Linked DNA regions of Homo sapiens: region 1 is linked to region 2. The links are contacts of gene promoters, found by promoter capture Hi-C in human tissues and cell types (Jung and others, 2019). All regions are on one chromosome and are shown on one strand. Each heading gives the region's core, a stretch centred on a gene start or on the middle of the fragment in contact. The rest is flanking DNA. Distances are from core to core; before and after follow the strand shown.

What was found. Contacts are between HindIII fragments. The study calls those that stand out against the background at their distance.
Region 1: a contact is called between a fragment that was not itself captured here and the fragment with the promoter of RPL35A in region 2, in 2 of the 25 tissues and cell types used here (mesenchymal stem cells and thymus).

What each region holds. Positions count from the first base shown.
Region 1 is chr3:197,820,685-197,824,875 of GRCh38, reverse strand. The region is part of intron 4 of LRCH3 (leucine rich repeats and calponin homology domain containing 3); the gene reads right to left. Among named protein-coding and RNA genes, the nearest start is that of LRCH3, 32 kb to the right of the region's middle. The HindIII fragment of the contact is 4,661 bases long and covers 25-4,191 here.
Region 2 is chr3:197,948,510-197,952,445 of GRCh38, reverse strand. RPL35A (ribosomal protein L35a) reads right to left here and starts at 2,256. Exons shown (of 5, transcript NM_000996.4): 1 at 2,225-2,256; 2 at 1,468-1,510; 3 at 1,135-1,287. The coding sequence starts at 1,478. The region is part of intron 2 of DRC9 (dynein regulatory complex subunit 9); the gene reads left to right. RefSeq lists enhancers at 207-988, 1,772-2,554, 2,634-2,853. The HindIII fragment of the contact is 11,846 bases long and covers 1-3,936 here.

The DNA.
Region 1 (4,191 bases), core at 1,106-3,605, 130 kb after region 2:
GCAGCAGGCCAGGTGCAGTGGCTCACGCCTGTAATCCCAGCACTTTGGGAGGCCAAGGCGGGTGAATCACGAGGTCAGAAGTTCAAGACCAGCCTGGCCAAGATGGTAAAACCCCATCTCTACTAAAAATACAAAAGTTAGCCAGGCGTGGTGGCGGGCTCCTATAATCCCAGCTACTTGGGAGGCTGAGGCAGAGAATCACTTGAACCCGGGACGGGGGGGCAGAGGTTACCGTGAGCCGAGATCGCGCCACTGTACTCCAGCCTGGGTGACAGAGTGAGACTGTCTCAAAAAAAAAAAAAGCTGGGCAGCAATACTAGAGAACAGCCAGTCCACATCAGAAGAGAAAAAAAGGGCTCAGTGAGGTGGAAGTGCAGGGAAAAAAGGGATAGAGAATCTGGTCTGACCAGAAAGCCTGCTGGAAAAAGAGGGTGGAATTAGCCATAGACACACATAAAAATAAGCATATAAAAAGATAAGAAACTATTACCTCCAGGGGAAAAAAAAAAAAAAAGCCGGGCGTGGTGGCTCACGCCTGTAATCCCAGCACTTTGGGAGGCCAAGGCGGGTGGATCACGAGGTCAGGGGTTCGAGACCAGCCTGACCAACATGGTGAAACCCCATCTCTACTAAAAATACAAAAATTAGCTGGGCATGGTGGCGGGCGCCTGTAATTCCAGCTACTCAGGAGGCTGAGGCAGGAGAATTGCTTGAACCCGAGAGGCGGAGGCTGCAGTGAGCCAAGATCATGCCACTGCACTCCAGCCTGGGCGACAGAGCAAGACTCTGTCTCAAAAAAAAAAAGAAAAAAACATGTACAAGAAAGGAAATAAAATCAGAGTACATCACTTGAATTGGCAGGGAACAATGTTTACATAATTACAGTAATGTGAACACTGAGTAACAATTTAATCAGAAGTTGTGCTAAAACTACACTGGGAAGATGGGAGGAAAGCAGTAAAGGCATGGTATGGTGACAGTGTAAGGAAACTAAATCCTCATCTATCATCACAATAGGAAGCTGACATAAGTGTCAAAGTTGCCCAAACCAGCAATAGCTATAAAAACATATCAGTTAGAAATATGTCAGCAGTCTGGGCACTGTGGCTCATGCCTGTAATCTCAGCACTTTGGGAGGCTGAGGTGGGTGGATTGCTTGAGTCCAGGAGACCAGCCAGGGGAACATGGTGAGACCCTTGTCTCTACAAAACAATACAAAATTTTCTGGGTGTGATGGTGCATGTCTGCAGTCCCAGCTACTTGGAAGGCTCAGATGGGAGGATGGCTTCAGCCCACAGAGTTCGAGGCTACGGTGAGCTCTGGTCACGCCATGCACTCCAGCCTGGGCAACAGAGTGAGACCCTATCTCAAAAAAAAAAAGAGTCAAAGGAGTTTAATGAAGGTACATACTTTTGGCCATTGAAATTGGTGTGCAGGGAAGTTTGAGGCAGGGGAACGACACTATTTAAGATTCTTGGCTGGGCACGGTGGCTCACGACTGTAATCCCAGCATTTTGGGAGGCTGAGGCAGGCGGATCACGAGGTCAGGAGATCAAGACCATCCTGGGCAACATGGTGAAACCCCGTCTCTACTAAAAATACAAAAAAGGCCGGGCACGGTGGCTCACGCCTGTAATCCTAGCACTTTGGGAGGCTGAGGCAGGCGGATCATGAGGTCAGGAGTTTGAGACCAGCCTGGCCAACATAATGAAACCCCGTCTCTACTAAAAATACAAAAAAAAAAAAAAAAATTAACTGGGCATGGTGGCGGGCACCTGTAATCCCAGCTACTTGGGAGGCAGAGGTTGCAGTGAGCCAAGATCACTCCACTGTACTCCAGCCAGGGCGACAGTGTGAGACTCCGTCTCAAAAAAAAAAAAAGAAGTAAAAATACAAAAATTAGCTGGGTGTGGTGGTGTGTGCCTGTAATGCCAGCTACTCGGGAGGCTGAGGCAGGAGAATGGCATGAACCCAGGAGGTGAAGCTTGCAGTAAGCTGAGATCGCACCACTGCACTCCAGCCTGCGTGACAGAGTGAGACTCCGTCTCAAGAAAAAAAAAAAAAAAAGATTCTTAATATTTTTTAATATTTTTTGAATGATGTAACATATTATTTGGTAAAAATTAATTTTAAATCAAAATGGCAATATAACAAAAGATATATGACATGTACCAAATTGCAATGTTAGAAATTACCAATTAAGTAACACAAACTTCCACACGAACGAATGTAGCTGTTGGAATAAAGCTTCACTTGCTAACTCAGTTCAACTATATGTGCTGAGATTATAAAATAAACTGTTAAAAAAATTGAAACTATTTGTGTGATAAACCATTTTGTCAGCAGTCTACAATCAAAATAAGATACAGAAATAAATTAGTTGATAAAACTATTAAGCTTCCATTGTCATCTGAAATGCTCAATTTTCATTTTGATTAAAACCCTAATATTCTCATTAATTGATTTCACACTAAATATTATTATAGGAGTAAGTCTTTGAAGACCAACCACAGTAGGCGAGTCCTGAGTACAGAGGTAACCCTAGGGAGAAATTTGGGGTTATAAGGTCCTAGAGGTCATGATTTTGGTTTTGCTAACCTTCATTTACATTCCTGAGTTGGTAGCAAACAGAACCAGGAGAAAATAAGGAAGGCCCTGAGGATAAAAAGTGTGAAGGTTCCTGGACAAGCCAAGTGAGAGGAAAGACACGCAAGGTTTTGGTTGCAGTAAGTATATAAAAGTGGACTGAAAAGGTCACGTTCTTACACATTTACTTGGAATCCAAAATGTCAAAGCTCCACTAGTATGTTAGAACTAAATATTATGCTGTATCAAATTGGTATAAATATTTGAATTCCACAGGGAAAGCGAAAACATCATTAGTTAATTCAACATGTATTGTGGCCAGGTGCAGTGGCTCACGCCTATAATCCCAGCACTCTGACAGGCTGAGGCAAGTGGATCTCTTGACCCCAGGAGTTTGAGACCAGCCTGGGCAACAGGGCAAAACCCCGTCTCTACTAAAAATACAAAAAGTAGGTGACATGGTGGCAAGTGCCTGTAGTCTAAGCTACCTGGGAGGCTGAGGTGAGAGGATCACCTAAACCTGAGAGGTCGAGGCTGCAGTGAGCCATGTTCGTGCCACTGCACTCTAGCCTGAGTAATGGGAGTGAGACCCTGTCTCAAAACAAACAAAATATTGATTGTACACTGTAAGTCATATTTTGTCAAAGAACCCAGAAAAGCACTGTCATGAAAATACCTTGAGAAGATTCCTTGTTTTTCTGGAATGTTTACCAATAAATTTCTGTATTTGATTCAAATTAATCTAGAGAATAGTGCAGGGGAAAGTAAATGAGAGCACAGTTGAGACAAGACTTGCCATGAGCTGATGACTCTTACTGCTGGGTGATGAGCAGAAACATATAGGAAGAAATATATATTCTGGATCTCATAAAATAATAGCTCTCATTTTCATCTTCCTTTCTAGCATTCTGTTTCATTAATTTGTGAAAGATTGATAAACTAGACTTCATTAATGTTTAATCATTTTTATCAAATACATATATCAGAGCTTGTAGTCAGCCTAAGTAAATAACCCGTCTCTTAGCGCAGTCTCTCACCCCATTTATCATTCACTCTACACATCACCTCCACATGGTTCATTAGCCTCTGTTTGAACATCTCCAGTGACCGGTTAAGTTCAGGTCAAAGTCCATTTTTAAGTGAGTGCTAACTGCAGAAATGTTTTTCATTATACTACACTATCCCCTTATCCAAACATGTTACATTTCCCCCAAACAGTCATGCTTACTGAAATTTCCAGGGACCCTACCCTGAGTTATTAATTACATCGGTTGACAAGATCTAAAAATAAAATCAAAGGTCAAGAGTTATCAAACCTTTTCATTGAAGAGGCTTTTAAAATCCACAATGGAACAGATAACACTATTAAATAAACCATTAGATTTCAAACACTGGAGGTAACACACACATACTCTCTCACACACACACAAACACACACAGACACACACACACTCTCTCTCTCTCTCCCCACCCCGTTTTTTTAAAAAAGGTCTCTTTCTGGTGCTCAGGCTAGAGTGCAGTGACCCCACCACAGCTCACTGCAGCCTTGGCCTCCTGGGCTCAGGGACTCCTCCCACCTCAGCTTCCTGAGTAGCTGGGACTACA
Region 2 (3,936 bases), core at 1,007-3,506:
CTGTAATCCCAGCACTTTGGGAGGCTGAGGTGGGTGGATCACAAGTTCAGGAGTTTAAGACCAGCCTGGCCAAAATGGTGAAACCCCATCTCTACTAAATATACAAAAATTAGACAGGCATGGTGGCGGCCGCCTGTAATCCCAGCTACTCAGGAGGCTAAGGCAGGAGAATCCCTTGAACCCGGGAGGCGGAGGTTGCGGTGAGCCGATATTGTGCTACTGCACTCCAGCCTAGGTGACAGTGAGACTCCGTCTCCAAAAAAAAAAAAAAAAAAAAAAAAAACCCATAATTTTAAGGCATTAACAAAATGCATTAAGCACAAGTGTTCTAAAAATCCTTAAATTCTGGCAAAAGGAGCCGAGAAAAAAAATTAGAAACCTTAAAAGGATCACAATATAAGGAATTACCTCCTTTATTGCTTACAAGTGCAAAAGGTACCTAAATCCAACACCACCCTCAGAAGTAACGTCCTTCTAAAACTCCCCATTAAGTTCCTTAATGACGCAAAATAGAAGCCACAGCAATACCAATCCAGCCTGGCCAACATGGGGAAACCCATTCTCTAGTAAAAATACAAAAATTAGCCGGGCGTGGTGGCACACCCCTGTAAGCCCAGCTACTCAGGAGGCTGAGGCAGGAGAATCGCTTGAGCCAGGAGGCAGAGGCTGCAGCGAGCCAAGATCGCGCTACTGCCCTCCAACCTGGGCAACAGAGACTCTTGTCACAAAAACAAAAAAACAATACCAAGTACTTCAGCTAAATCTTTTGTTTATTATTTCAATAGGATAATGAGGCCAGGCGCGGTGGCTCAAGCCTGTAATCTCAGCACTTTGGGAGGCCGAGGTGGGCGGATCACCTAAGGTCAGGAGTTTGGGACCAGCCTGGCCAACATGGCAATACCCTGTCTCTACTAATAATACAAAAACTAGCCGGGCGTGGTGGCCGGCGCCTGTAATCCCAGCTACTCGGGAGGCTGAGACAGGACACTTGCTTGAACCCGGGAGGCGGAGGTTTCGGTGAGGGAGACCAAGTCACTGCATTCCAGCCTCGGCAACAGAGCAAGACTCCGTTATATAAAAAAGAAAATGAGGCAGATCTCAAAAACCCAAAACCTACCAGTGTCATAAACTTACTTCTTTGCTTTATATACATAAGCGCATCTCTTGCCCAAATAGAATTCTGTTTCATCTCGGGCGTAAACACCTTCAATTTTAAGAAGAGCTGTGTGCTCCCTTTGGTTCCGGAGACCCCGCTTATAGCCAGCAAAAATGGCCTTGGACCACAGCCTAAGACACAAAAGATACACAACATGAAACATAAGCTTCAAAAAACCAATCTGACTTGTAATCACCCCCACCCAAAAGTTACTCAGAGCAAACATCTAAGTTTTTTCTTGCCAATTTTAAGCTCGCATTTACGTTCACGTCTAACACACAAAAATAAAGAACTATATTTAAAACGCGTACCTTCCAGACATAGTTCCTTTTAGAAGTCCCGTTCCCAGCAGGCCTTAAAACAAACAAAAAGATTAGTTTAAAACCAAGCCACACAAGTTTCCCACCTCGTCCCCTCTCGTTTAAGCCCCTAAAGCAAATTCCTTTTGGATGGGAGTTTCATGTAGGAGTTCGGGGACAACAATGCCAGAACATCCATATGAAACGCAGGGTCCGGCAAGACATTCAAACCTCAGAGAACAGCTGGTATCTAAGCAAACTTCAGAATGAAGACAAAACTAAGGGACAGGAGTCACAAAAATGACTCTCAGAAAAGCCTGAGAAAATGCATGCCGTTATCAGTAGGCAACACTCAGGAAAAGAAATGAAGCCTTAAAGAGAAACACACACGTAAGACTTTTATGCAATGGCTGGGGGAGAAAAGCTGAGGAAAGAGACTGGTCAGACAAGCCAAGGAAGGTATGGACTGGGAGGAAACGGATGAAGGAAGCACTGCCTCATGGACAACTGCACACGAACAAAAACATCGTTTCACTCCGTTCAGGCCCAGGAATTTAACTGGGATAACCCGGGCAGCCGTTCTCCGGGTGTCAGGGGACCAAACACCATCAGCCCAACATCTCCTCCATCCTGTTCTCCCTCTTCTTGAAACCCGTAGAAATCAATGGCTGGCAGAGACTCCGATACGCACCGGCGACTCGCCAAGGCACAGGAACAAACCTACTCCGGTTATTTGCCCCCAAATTTCAGCAGCAGACCCTTCACTCACCTCCACAGGAGCCAAGATGGCGGTAAGAGAAGGACGAGGCCCCGCCGCGTGGCCTTGTGGGATTAAACATCTTTCGACTCCGCCCTCAATTTAGGCATCTTCTCCAAACGCCAGAAAAACAATCCTCGGAAATCGGCTTCGCACTGAAATAAGCCACATTCAATAGCACTCTTACAATTATTTTCCTAAGTCCTTTCATCTTGGTAGGCTGCAAAATGTACTACTTGGGAACAAGGGAAGGCAAAATGGTAGCCAGCTAAATCCGCCAAAGCTGTGCGTTGCCATAGAAACAACTTAGTTTACTTCCTGCGTCCCCGGACGCCGTAGGTGGAAAGGCGAACCCTGAGTGGAGGATGTTCCCGCTGCCTAAAGAATGATTGACTGTAAGATTGATTTGCCAACAGTGGGGTGCTTTTCTCTCGATACACACAGCAATAGACAGAACGGAAATTCTGGGATCCTAATCTAGCATGGAAGAGAAAGGCCGGGAGCACGAAGGCAGCAGGACCTCTTCCTTCTCTTTTTTCTTTTTCTATACTTCTTTTCTCCCCTCTACTTATTTATCTCTTTCAAGAAATGAGACTGGGCACAGTGGCTCACGCCTGTAAACCCAGCTCTTTGGGAAGCCGAGGCGGGAGGATCGCTTGAGGCCAGGAGTTCGAGACCAGCCTGGGCAACATAGTGAGACCACCTCCCCCAACCTCTACAAAAGAAAAAAAAAATGAATGAAATGACTTAAGTTCTTACCTCCATTCTTCTTTTTGGATCCGAGGTATGAGGAGGACTGCCTGCAGGAGGCTTTATCGCCCTTTTAGGAGAACTCGTTTAGCTGCCTCGTGTCCGCACCTAGTAGGTCCTCCGTAGATACTTGTAGAGGTGGATTAGTGGACGCCAGAGATTCACATTTCCGAATTATTGCATATTTATTTGGGTTATCCTATGGATTCATTCATTTATTTAACACATAGTTTAATGAATGACTACCCTGTACCAAGGTTTGTGTAAGATGACACGGCAGTAAACAAATCTATGCCCTCGTGGAGCTTATATCCTACGAGGCGGAGCAACACAATGAGCAAGTAAAAATAGATGACACGTTAGAAGATGATAATTTCTGTGAAGAAAATTAAGCAGAGAGGCCACTGTAAAAGAGGCTTTCCCCACTTTGAGATGGGAAGTATGTAAAAGAGGCTTCCCCTGCTTTGAGATGGGAACTATTTAAGGGTCCTGAACAGAAGGGTGACTCTATCTGACTTCTATATTGACAAAGTCACTGTGTTGAAAGTGAAGGGAGGCAAGGGTATCAGCAGGAAGATAATTATAGGTTCCTGTAGTGACTATGATGAGAGGTGATGGTGTGTAAACAGAGGATATTGAGTACTGGAATTCTGAATATATTTAAATTCTGGCAAGATTTGCTGGTGGATGAGGAATGAGAGAGAGTAAAGTATGACTCCGAAGTTGTATGAAATAGATGTATATAAGTCACTTTTAAAATCAGATCCTCTCTTAAATACAACAGGATAGAACTTGTACCTTGTAGCCTACTACCCCACCCAGTGTTCCCTGTCCCAGAAAGAAATGTGCTAGAAATTTCACTATTAGATATTGATTTGTCAAAGTTCTATATGGAAGTCCTCCTGGGAGGAATAACACATTAAGTGTGAGTTTCATTCGTTTGCTCGTGTATTATTCGTTCCACAAATACTTAT